Linked DNA regions of Homo sapiens: regions 2 and 3 are each linked to region 1. Evidence: promoter capture Hi-C in 16 types of primary human blood cells and fetal thymus (Javierre and others, 2016). All regions are on one chromosome and are shown on one strand. The core of a region is centred on a gene start or on the middle of the fragment in contact, and the rest is flanking DNA. Distances in the headings are between cores, read along the strand shown.

Evidence for each region. Contacts are between HindIII fragments. The CHiCAGO score rates a contact against its expected background, and 5 or more counts as called.
Region 2: a fragment that was not itself captured here is called in contact with the fragment with the promoter of COLGALT2 in region 1 in 1 of 17 cell types (endothelial precursors); the score reaches 5.2 in endothelial precursors.
Region 3: a fragment that was not itself captured here is called in contact with the fragment with the promoter of COLGALT2 in region 1 in 2 of 17 cell types (megakaryocytes and M1 macrophages); the score reaches 5.7 in megakaryocytes.

What each region holds. Positions count from the first base shown.
Region 1 is chr1:184,035,911-184,040,194 of GRCh38, forward strand. COLGALT2 (collagen beta(1-O)galactosyltransferase 2) reads right to left here and starts at 1,818. Exons shown (of 12, transcript NM_015101.4): 1 at 1,185-1,818. The coding sequence starts at 1,447. RefSeq lists a silencer at 1,541-1,630. The HindIII fragment of the contact is 2,777 bases long and covers 436-3,212 here.
Region 2 is chr1:184,656,843-184,660,987 of GRCh38, forward strand. No RefSeq gene overlaps it. Among named protein-coding and RNA genes, the nearest start is that of EDEM3, 96 kb to the right of the region's middle. The HindIII fragment of the contact is 2,495 bases long and covers 593-3,087 here.
Region 3 is chr1:184,693,716-184,697,534 of GRCh38, forward strand. It overlaps EDEM3 (ER degradation enhancing alpha-mannosidase like protein 3), which reads right to left. Exons shown (of 20, transcript NM_025191.4): 20 at 1-757. The coding sequence ends at 348. Among named protein-coding and RNA genes, the nearest start is that of EDEM3, 59 kb to the right of the region's middle. The HindIII fragment of the contact is 275 bases long and covers 2,347-2,621 here.

The DNA.
Region 1 (4,284 bases), core at 568-3,067:
ATATCACATGTTTGCTTTCGCACCTTTGCACCTCTCCCACCAGGTACTCTGAGGCTGCCAATTCTAGCTGCTGCTTTTACTCCTCTTCCTCTCTTTGCCCAACCGCTGCTTTAAGGATGTGTCTCGCCTGAGAACAGCTCCCTTTATCAACACAAGACAGAAATTGCTCCAGAGTGACCTGGGCTCTGTCTTCCTCAGGGGGCCAGAGTCTTCTTGTCCGAGTACCTACCTGACAGCACATCTCCCCTGGCCAGCATCCACCTCCTTGTCCTCCACAACCCACTCAGCGGCTAACCTGGCCACCAACTAACTTCTCGCCCTCGGATCCTCGCGTTTATAAAAGGTGCGAGACGACCAAGTTCTACAAGGTGGGGCGGGCAGGCACCCGCACTTATCCCCTGGCCCTCCCCGCAGCAGACACAGGGACCAGGTCCAAGCTTCTTTCCTCCGGGGACAAAACTTGGCTGTTTATCTTTCCCAGGGCATCTTCGTCTCTCCCCGGGACGTGGAACCCCGATGCACCGGCAGGGACAGCCCGGAGCGCTCGCAGGAGACCAGGCCCACGGTGGTGCCATGGTTGGGCACACTCCGCGGGCTCCGCCCAATCTCCACCCCTAGGTCCAGGTCCCCCTAGGAGAGCTAGGAGCACATTTCCAGCCTGGAGCAGGAGCCCGGCACCGGAAAGTCAGAGCAGCGCACTGCGGCGCCCCAGCCACTGCGGAGCCCCTGGCCAACCGCAGTTACGTTCCATCTGTCGTATCTACATGGGAATACGGCGACAGGCACCCTATCCCCTCACGTCAGGGCTAGCAGTATGAGGTGGGGAAAGAGGAAACCTCGAGAGTTAAAAGCGAGGGAACTGAAAGTCCCCTTGAGGGGTGTCCCCCATGCCCCTTGTGGGACAAAGCCCCAATTCGCAGGCTACCCTCCAGAGCTCCAGCGGTCCGGTTCTCCCCATCAGCACCCTCTGCGCACACTGACCCGCGCGTCCCTCCGCAGCCTGACCGCCCGATCCGCCAGCCACCGGCGCGGGCAGCGAGGGGGTGTGTGCGCCAGATTTTCCGCGTGCCCCCCCGCCCCTCCAGCGGCTCCCTCGCCCTGCAGCTGCTGCTCCGGGCGCTGTCCGCGCTGGGCAGGCCGCCCCCGCGTCCCGCCGCGGCGGCCCGGGGCCCGTGCGCGCTCACCAGATGGCCATCCTGCTCTTGGGGTAGTCCAGCCGCTCCAGGCAGCCGAGGAAGTGCGGCAGCGTGTGCGCCGCGTTGCGGGCGAGGACCGCCACGAGCACCGTGGGGCTCTGCAGGGGCGACTCCGGGAAAACCACCGGCTCCTCTCCGTCGTCCTCCGAGTCCCGCTCGGCGACGAAGCGCGCTCGGCAGCCTTCGCGGAGCAGGGCTGAGGAGAGGAGCAGTAGCGACCAGGCGAGGGTGGCAGCAGGGCGCGCAGCCATGTTCCGGGCCGAGGCGGGCGGCGGGGAAGTCCTGGCGCGAGCGCCCGGCTGGGCTGCCTGAGGGCGGCGGCGGCTGCCGGGGAGCAAGGGGCTGCGAGGGGCGGCCGGGGGATGCGGCTTGCCGCGGCCGGCCGGCTCACACACTGGCCTCGGCGGCTGCGGTTCCCAGGACCCTCCCGCCGCCGCTGCACCGCCCAGGCCCCAGTGCGGGTGCGCAGCGTACCTGCAGCCGCTGGCGCTCCCCTGCGCCTCGGGCTCGCAGACAGTAGTGGCCGAGGGGCTGTGTGCCCTGAGTCCTGAGGAAAGTTCCTCTAGTCCAGGTTCCGCTCGTACAGCTGAGGTCTGTGGCCTTCCCTAGAGCCGCGAGTTGTGGCCCTGTCTGCCAATGAGCCTGTGAGTGTGTGTGTGTGTGTGTGTGTGTGTGTGTGTGTGTGTACATAACGGTACAACCCCAAGAAAATTTATTCTGCTTTTGCAAACCGCAGACTGAAGCCCTTCACAGTGATGCAATGTATCCAGTTTTCATAATGCACCTATTGACTGAGTAGAGTTCTAAAATGAAAAGTCTCCCCAACTATTCACGATTATGACAAACACTTGTTTAACCACCGCAAAGGCAGCATGTCGCATTTTCTTATATACTCAACTTCTGAAATTCATTCTTGACTGAGTAGACACCTAATAACACAAAGTTTGAAGACTTGGAGAATTTTGGAGCCAGATCAGACCCCGCAAAATAAAAGAAAGCCCTTGGGAGACACTGTCCTGAAGCCTCACTCTACTGTGAACCCAGTAAGCCTCCTCACAGGAGGGCTGTGAAAGAATAAATTCACTTAGCTGGTTTTCTTTTTCCGTAATAAGCCAATATGATAGAGTAACAAAGAGGGAAAATTCGCGCATGTTGGAGAGCAGAGAAGAGATAAGGAAGAAAAGAAGGGGTGAAGGAAGAACACAATTAGCACATAAAATGAAACTGCTGGCATACACTGCTAAAGGAGATTTACTTTTTTTTTTTTTTTTTTTTTGAGACAGGGCCTCACTCTGTTGCCGGGGCTGGAGTGCAGAGGCACGATCACAATTCACTGCAGCCTCGACCTCCTGGGCTCAAGCAATCCTCCCACCTCAGCCTCCCGAGTAGCTGGGACCACAGGTGTCCATCACCACGCCTAGCTAATTTTTTTTTTTTTTTTTTTTTTTGTAGAGACGGGTTTTCACCATTTTGCCCAGGCTGGTCTGGAACTCCTGGGCTCAAGTGATCTGCCCAACTCGGCCTCCCAAAGTGTTACGATTACAGGCATCAGCCACCATGCTCGGCTGGATATTTAGTTTTGAAGATATATTGTGTAGCCTTTGATAGATAAGTATGGAGGGTGTTTTGGTGCCAGTGCACATTCATGATCTCCAATCCCAACTCACCCTCAGGTCTGTCCCATAGTCTTTTTATTAGTTGTTATCAATCCTTCTCAGCAACTATTAGAAGTCTTCCCTACTGTCTTTTGAAGTATATCACCTCCTTCATCCAGCTCCCCCAACACCACTGTCTCCAACTAGCATCCCTACCAAGACCTTTCTTACTTGCAGGTGCCTCCTCACGACAGGGTCTTTGATCACAGACTAGAAAGGGAGAGGTCTCCCTTTCTAGCCCATGATTTTTCTCTATCATTCCACTCTCTACTGAATCTTCAACTGATCTCTATCAACTCCTTTCTCTCAAGCTAAATACTTGGTCAGTCTTCTCTTATCCGTTAAAAAAAAAAGAAAGAAAAGCTTTAAAAAAAAGTCCTGTGTCTTCTTCTAGTCATCCCTTTGCTTGACCAAGCTCCTTGGAAGAGAGATCTATACTTGTATTCTCCACTTCTTCATCTCCCATCTTTCCCACCACAGTGCAGTAAGGCGTCAGCCCTCCCCACTGTTCTGCAAAACCAACAGATGGCCTCAGCATTGGCAGATTCAGTAAACTCTTCCGTTCTCACCTTCCTGGACTTCGATTACATAATCTCCCATCCTAGATCTCCTCTGATACTACTTGTCTCTGAGCCAAGCCCCTTCACTGTGTGCCTCCCTATAGTGTGCTAGTCTTCCCACTCCATATGGTCTCCTGTGGTTATATCCTCAAAATCTATGTCTTCTGCTCTAATCTCTTCTCTAATCTTCATATTTTTTTATCGAATGGCCTACAGACATTTCCTTCCCCTCCATCCATTTTCAGGAATTGTTCCCACTTTCAAGGGGCTCACAGTCTTGTAGGGAAGACTGAGAGTTAAACATCTGTTAGAAGTACTGTAACAGATGTACCAGCTACAGTGAAGGGATAGAGGAAGATGTGGTCATTTCCACAAGGGAGGTAGTGATGGGACTGTTAGAAAGGTCCAGACAATCTCCATGTTGTTCTGTCTTTCTTGTTTCCCTTTCTTGAACTATGTCCCACTCATCTTTCAATACTAAAATCCGCACTCCTTAGCCAAACTTGGTTTGATAGTTATCATTTGTTCACTTTACTGCAAACAGAGGGAGTTTAAAGCTAGGCAACCACATTTCTGTCTTATTTTCCTTCTGTTACTGATATGGTCTGCCTATGTCCTCACCCAAATCTCACATCGAATTATAGCTCCCATAATCCCCACGTGTCGTGGGACGTAATTGAATCATGGGGGCAGGTTTTTCCCATGCTAGTCTCGTGATAGTGAATAAGCCTCACAAGATCTGATGGTTTTATAAAGGGCAGTTCCCCTGCACATGCTCCCTTGCCTGCCGCCATGTAAGGTGTGTCTTTGCTCCTCCTTTGCCTTCTGCCATGATTGTGAGGCCTCCCCAGCTATGTGGAACTGTGAGTCCAC
Region 2 (4,145 bases), core at 590-3,089, 620 kb after region 1:
AGGCCTGCACCACCAGGCCTGGCTAAATTTTGTACTTTTAATAGAGACAGGGTTTCACTATGTTGGCCAGGCTGGTCTCAAACTCTTGACCTCAGGTGATCCACCCGCCTTGGCCTCCCAAAGTGCTGGGATTACAGGCGTGAGCCACCATGCCCGGCCTGAAACTTTCTAATGATTGTTTTACTCTGTAAGAATATTTCTGATTCTGGCTGGATCACTGACTTAACATTGAAGGAAGTTATTGGACTCATTCTCAGTAGTAACTGGGATTCCTCAGAAGAAGAGTTAGAATTGTTGAGAAATGAAATAGTTCTTCCCAGGGCAAGTTATAGCCCCAAAGATACAAAATGATGGTGCCATGAGTTGGAAACTATGGTTTCCTGCATTTTTATCTATGGTGTGCAATCAAAAGTCCAGGTTCTGCATTTCTAAAATGTCCTGGTTAATGACATTTCACTCACAACTTTTTTTTCCCTTTTGATTTATGGAAAATGTGAAGCATTCGCACAGGGAAGAAAATACAGCCTCTTTTCATTTTGCTTAAACCCAGGAAGGCTTTATTCAGTAGCACCTGTTTGGGTGGACTTCAACAAGCTTCTCCAAAATAGAAACGTTCCATTAGTAAACTGTTTAGGAAATAGACCGTGCTCAGAAATGAGCCTGCTGAAAGAGCTGCAAAGTTATTCTGCCGTTTCATCCTTGCTTATTTTCCCCCCATGGAGTTTCATGTCTTATTTTTAAACTATGTTTCACTTTAAGTGACAAAGCAGCCCTTTGGAAATTATATATAAAGTCTATTATTTTAATTTGTTTATTAAAAATTATTTTGTCTCTTAATTAGTGTTAGATCCAAAAGAGTGCTGCTATGTTTATTTACATATGTATAGACATATGTACATATATGTTATGTATATTTCTTGCTATGCATGTAATATATAAGCATTGTACATTATATATTATATAACTCAGATAATATATAATATTTATATATAAATGTTTATATGCTATGTATATTTACATATATACACACATGTATATATGTGGATATATAAATAAAGCACTAAGCATGGAACATATACATAAAGCACTAAGCATGATATATATATATGCTTATATATAATATATATAATATATGTATTATATTATATATAATTCCAGATATATAATGTATGCTTAATCCTTTATGTATATTTTCCAGTCAGTCCTTACAATTCTGTAATGCAATTGTTAGTTCTCCATTTTTCAAGCAAAGAGCCTCATTAGAGAATTTGCTTCTCTAGCCCAAGGATGTGCAGTCATAACAAACTTGGTATTTCACCTCAGTGCTGATTCTAGAGCCTGTGTTTTCCCTCCTGTCCATCATTCTGATTTTCTCACAGCTAACAATATAGGAGCATCAGATATTCCTGTATTGGATGGAACAGAAAGGAAGCTAAGAGCTCATCCACTTCACCTTCATTTTATGGGAGGAATGGGAGCCCAGAGAATTGAAATGACTTGCTCAAATGTACGTAATTAACTGACAAGAGCCGTCACTTCTCAGCATCTCCTTTTACTCCAGAATTCTACTCACATAGTAGAATCTCACTCAATGTGAGAGTTTATTGGAATTTACTCCCCCAAATGAAACTAGATTTATTTTATTTTCTTTATATGTAAAGGAATTCATGATTTAAAAAACAGCATTCACTCTGTCCACATAAAATCGTGAATATGCACAAAGGGATGTATGAAAGATGAACTCTAAAATACTCATGGTAGTTATCTCCAGGTAGTGGGATTTCAGATTATCTGTCTCTTTCTCTATACTTTTTTGTGTTTGAACGTATATATATATATATAATTAGAACATGCAATAAGGTCAGATGCTCAGTTAATAACCCCTTGTGTAGTTTTTCTAACATTCTCATGTTCATGTAACAATATAAAAACATGTATACATGTATTTAAGGGTTGTCAATATTTGTTTTACAAAAATGTTTTTTCCCTATACATTCTCTGAAGTTTGTTCTATCACTTAAAAACGTTTTGTGAAAATCTCTCCAAATCAATTGGTAAAGCTCTATTTAAATAGTGCCCAACATTACATGGTTAAGAATATGCCATGATTTTACCCATTCCCCTTTCAATGAATTCTCAGTTTGTTTCTTGATGTTTGCCACCACAAGCAATGCTGCAGTGAATATCCTTATACTGGTGGCTTTATTTCTATAGAACAGACTTCCAGTAGTTGAACTGGTAGTAAAGTCCTCCTTTGCTACTCTCTCCTCATTATTTTATGTGTATTCTTGGACATACATAGTCTTCCACATGAATCTTAAAAAATTCTGTATCTAATTAAATAAAAACCTTACTTAAATTCCACTTAAATTAAAATTCCATTAATTATACATGTTACTATTGAGGAAAATGACATTTTTATGGTGTGAAGTTTTCCTTTCCATACTATATATTTTGATTACTTTTCTGATCTTGCTTTAGATCATTTGATAAAATATTATAGCTAACTTCATATGGCTCCTGTGCCTTTCAGGTCTATATTTATATCCTGTAAAATTTTCATATTAATTCTAATATTATGATATTTCTTGAATTTTCTAGGTATAAAATTACATTACTAAAGTATGATCTTTCATCTCTTCTTTTTCCATATTTATGCAAAATATTTCAATTTTTGCCTTCTTGCATTTACTAGAATTAACTAATGTTGAATTTTGGGGATAATGAGCATGTCTTTTCTGTTCTTGATTTTAATGAAAATGGTATTCTCATTTCATTATTTATGATGATGTTTGCTATTGATATTTGTTCATCATTATCATATTTTCATACTTTTCTATTTATAACTTTACTTAGTTTTTTGACTAATAATGTGCTTTAATATACTGATATAATGAATTTCATTAATATATTTATTAATATTGAACCATTCTTATATTCTTGTATTTTTATAATAAGCCCTCCTTGGTCAAATATTATTACTATTATGATACATTGTTCTCTTTGCTCATTCTTTCTTAAACATTTTTGCAATAATATGTATTAGTATGCTTGCATGATAGTTTTCTTCTGTTTTAAACCTTTTAAAGCTTTCCCACTCAAGTTATTCTCAATTTATTCATAGGGAATTTTTTTCTTATTTTCACAGTTATGTGTATCTCTTATGGAATCCTGTAGCTAGAATTTTCTTCCTAATTTGTTTTTTAACTAATTTTTAACTAATTTAAAAGCTGAAGAAAACAATGATTTTAAAATGCAAGCCACTGTTTCCTGAAAAGACTGAAACTCAAATTCACTTTTGGTAGACTGTCCTTTTATTCTGGGAAAACCATATGAAGAAACCGTGTGGTTTCATAAAGTTTATTCAGAAAAAACCTAGTAAAATCATCCCTCTCCCAAAAGAAATATTTTTGCCTCAGAAGCTGAGTGTTCTGCAGGGTGATGCTAACATGTGTCTGCTTGTGCCAGAGCTCAGATTTCTGTAGACTGGGTTATGTTTTCTTCTGACTGGAGATTTCATGTTTGTTTTATGGTGAGGAGGGAGGGAAAGAGAAAAATAGGAGAAATGTTTTCCTTTTCTGAATGATTTAGAATGCACCCTATATCAAACGCATGAGGATTTTTAAAGCATAATTTGCAAGATGTAGAGAGCTGGAAAGAAGTGCTACAGGACCAAATCCCATGTATGACACAGTAAGAAAGAAATGGACTGGCCTAGGGCAGCTCTGCCTAAACCATTTTGTAAGATTAAGCCACCCAGAATCTGCTGAAGAGAAACCAGCTTGAGGTGGCTGTCCCACCCACTCCCCACCTGTGTGTGTAAAATGGCATTCCCCAAGAAAGAGGCAGTCATTCCCCCTTTGAAAAAATGCTGAGAAAGGGTAGATCCTAACACAAGAAATGGAGCCTGGGAAGCCAGGCCCTGAGTTGGGCTGAGGCAGAGAGCATTTTCTTCTCTCCTGACCTTGGGCAGTTGGGTCTGGACAGGAAGTCATGATGCAGGGGTGGGCAGGCCCAGCCAGTGGAGCCTGGCCCCAAAACCCTCTGCAGAGGCCAAGGATAGGCCCACCTGGACCTGTGAGCCCTGACAGTGGCCACCTCTAACATTAATTATGACCTATTCTCTACTGTGTCCTACTTCCTTT
Region 3 (3,819 bases), core at 1,234-3,733, 660 kb after region 1:
TCCACTACTAAATGAATTTTGTTTCTTGTCTATCCAGAGACAACAGAAATCTGGTTCGCAGGAATGCTCAGTAATCTTTCCCTGGCCTGAGGTGTTGCAGGGTGGTGCAGTGCTGCATTTGAAGGGGGAACTGTGGATTTCCATTTTTGATGGGACAGTTTTAAACAAGGTCAATTCTAACACAGCATGCTCCAGATTCCTACGATAACTACGCCAGTCAGAACGTGGTTGTTCATCACCATACTTAAAGCCTCCCATTAGAAAGCCTGCTTAGTATTAGGATGTCTATTAACCACACACAGTTTACCTTTTCTTTTTAAATACCTACCAACAGATTGTTTAGCAAGTCATAGCTCATCCTTCTCCATCATTTCAAATGCTTCTATATCTTCATTCCAGTCTGCTAATATGGAGTCTATAGGCTGGACCTTTTTACCCCAGCTAACATTAGGATTGGAATCTTCCTCAGTTTCTGATTGTTCTTGAAGCTGGTTATCTAAATCTGTACATTCACCATTAAGATTTGTAGTCTCATGGTTTTCTGTGGGATTAGAAGTCTGTTCAGAAGGGGAAATGCTTGCAGCATTGTCCATATCTGCTAGAGATAATGATTCTGGGTGAGAATTTAGAGAATTTTCCTCAGAAGACTCTTGATCAACCAAATCAACCTCCTGAGAACTTGATGAAATCTGTTCACCACTCTGATTCTGAGAATCATTTTCAGAGGATGGTTGTTCTTCATTTTCCATTTCAGGATCTGTATGAGAAAGAAACAAACCTCATGCTACTTCTCTAAAAAAATGTACTATTACACTTTCCAAAGCATATTGGTTTTTGCAACAAGATGAAATAAAACGTGAAAGAGACTCATGTTAATGCAGAAAGGTGAGCATCAGCACTGAAATGAAGACTGTCTTTATGCAGTCACATTTTCCTATAGATTCACTGTGCAAAATGTGTCAGTGTTAGAAAATAAACGTTCTTCCAAATTGGAAGGAATGACAATAACTAAGACTGACATCAGTGGACATTAGTAAGCCAAGAAGTACGCTAACCAATAATAATATTAAAATATATAGAGATTTGCAATGTATGGCTAAAATGTATTAGATACCTAAAGCTTATGCATAAGAACATATTAAACAGAATCAATTTTAAACAGCATATATCATTGCTATATTTTCAAATAATATTCCTTTGAAAAGTGAAATTCCTACTCAGTAAGTCATAAAGAAGCAGATAACATAGATTTTTTTGAATGACTAAGGGTATTAATGTGACTGATCAGAAATACTTTCACAAGACAAGAACTGAGATTATTCATAAAATTCTATTATTTTAGGCCTATGAATTATAAGATATAGTCATTTTAAAATCCACTGGAAGGCTGAAGAGTGAGTTAAACCTCTTATAATGAATATACAGTGAAACCAGTAGAGGCATTTTATTTAGGGTTCCTACAAGAAAGTGCTTAAATAGCATCGACGCCTACATGCTACATCCTGTTCAGTCTCTGCCTCTGTGATGCAGTTGGCCAGCAAATATCCTCCAAGTCATCATTTGCATAGTGCTAGGGATAAAATGAGGAGCAATACCAAATGCTATACCTGCCCTTATGGGTCTTATAGTCCAACGGGAGAAAAAGATATTATACAAATAATCACGGAAAATAAATAGAAAACTCAACTGTGACACGTTATGAAAGAGAGATAAGGATTTTGGATGCTCAAGTCCCTTATGTAAAATGACACAGTATTTGCATATAACTGACACACATCCTCCCATGTACTTTAAATCATCTCTTGATTACTTTATAATACCTAATACAACGTAAATGTTATGCAAATCATTGGTATACTGTATTGTTTGGAGAATAATGACAAGAAAAAAAATCTCTGTATGTTCAATACAGATGCTTTTTTCTTCTTGAATATTTCCTATCCACAGTTGGTTGAATCCATGGGTGCAGAACCCACAGATACAGAGGGAGAACTGTAAGGAGATTTGAGAAGTTTCTTCAAAAAGTTCCTTCAGAAAGTGACACTTGAGCTGGGGTTTAAAGTATAAGATAATGTCAAAGAAGGGAGGGAAGAGGATTTATTTAAAAACCAGAAAAAACAAAGGAAATGTAGACATGCAGGAAGGTGTGGTGGGTATTGCTGGGGCACAGAAAACAATTCCCCAAAATATGGTGCTTCAGCATGATGAATGCTTGGAAAACTGAAAGGTCTCAGAAATAAGCCTCAGAACCAGTCTGTCTCTGACCTTCCCCTGCCTCCCTGTCTCTCTGATCCTCTTTCCTGAAGCAACTGGGGGGATTCTCTCTGGAATTTTCTTATCTAAGGAAGCTTCTTTCCAAATGAAATGCAATTGTCTCAAGAATCCCTCCCTAGGACTCTCATCAAATAACGAGAAAAAAAATGAGCCATCAGAGAAGAGTAGAGACAGGGGTCCTCACCACACCCAAACAGACTTTTCTTCTGTTCTTCTGAGGACAGCTGAGAGATTAACTGGGGGACTTTATCTAGATACTATGCAAAGAGAATCCTTTACCAATCATTGTCTAAGCACTGGACCTCTTCATTCCCTAGTATTCCTCTACCCTAAGAAGAGGGTATTTAAGCTTCAACCACCTGTCCCCTTTCATATTTTGTATGGCTCCTGTGCACACACGTACACATAATAAAATTATTATGCTTTTCTGTTGTTAACCTGTTTTTGTTTTTTTTTAACCCGGGGTGTCCGCTGTAACCCTTTATGATGGGGAGGAAAGGATCACCCCTTTCTGCCCCTACAATGCATATATGTTCACCCTGATTAGATGGGATTACTTGACTCTGAAAGTTTACATTCTTAGGGTTTTTTTTCCGGAGGGGAGGATCAGCAGGGGGTGGATTGAGGAATTCCACACAATCTCTGTCTTCTAAGCTGTGAAAAAGGTACAATTTAATTAGGCAATTAGGGAAACCAATGGTGCAGACCAAAGAAAGAAGGTAGCTGGCTACTTACAGCTTATTTATCCTAGGTTCCCTAAATTCAAGAGAGAACAAAAAGAAAAATCTCCAAGTTTCTTTCTAGATTGTATTATTCCAGATTAGAAGGAGAGGAAAAGGTGTAGGGTTGTTTTACCTGGTAATGAAGATTGTGCTTGTGATAAAAAACTCTCCTAGGGTTACATATACGATATTATTTTGGAAATCTAGCTGATGTAATCGGACAAGAAAGTAGAATAATCAATGTAAATATAGAAAAAGATCAAATTATTTGTATTTTCAGATTGTGATCGTACACTGTCAAAGCAACTTTAATAAAAAAATACTATTAGAATTGATAAAAAAAATTTGGTAAGAAGACTATGCAAATACCAATAACTCCTTTGTAGTAACAATAAATAGTTAAAATATAATCATTAAACCTTTTCATAATAAAAAGCTACAAAACATAGAATTAAATTTATTATAAAAGGTATAAGACCCACGTTGCTTAAATAAAATCATAATGAGAACATAAAACAAGATTTGATTAAATTTATAGGTATATTCTTAAATGAAGTCTTAATATTTAACATTTTCCTAATTTATATGTAAAGTATGCAATTATATAATTTCAAAATGAATCTCATTTGTACTTCTTGTTTTCGTTTTAGAACCAGATACAATTAATTTAAAGTTTCTATGGAACAGCATATGTCAAAGAGAAGCCAAGAAATTCTAAGAATCAGTGAGGGGAGAGTTGCCCTATCAGATAATAAAATATACTCAAAACAGCAAACTTTTATTATTGGCAAAGGAATAAACACATTAGTAGAAGAGAAGGGTA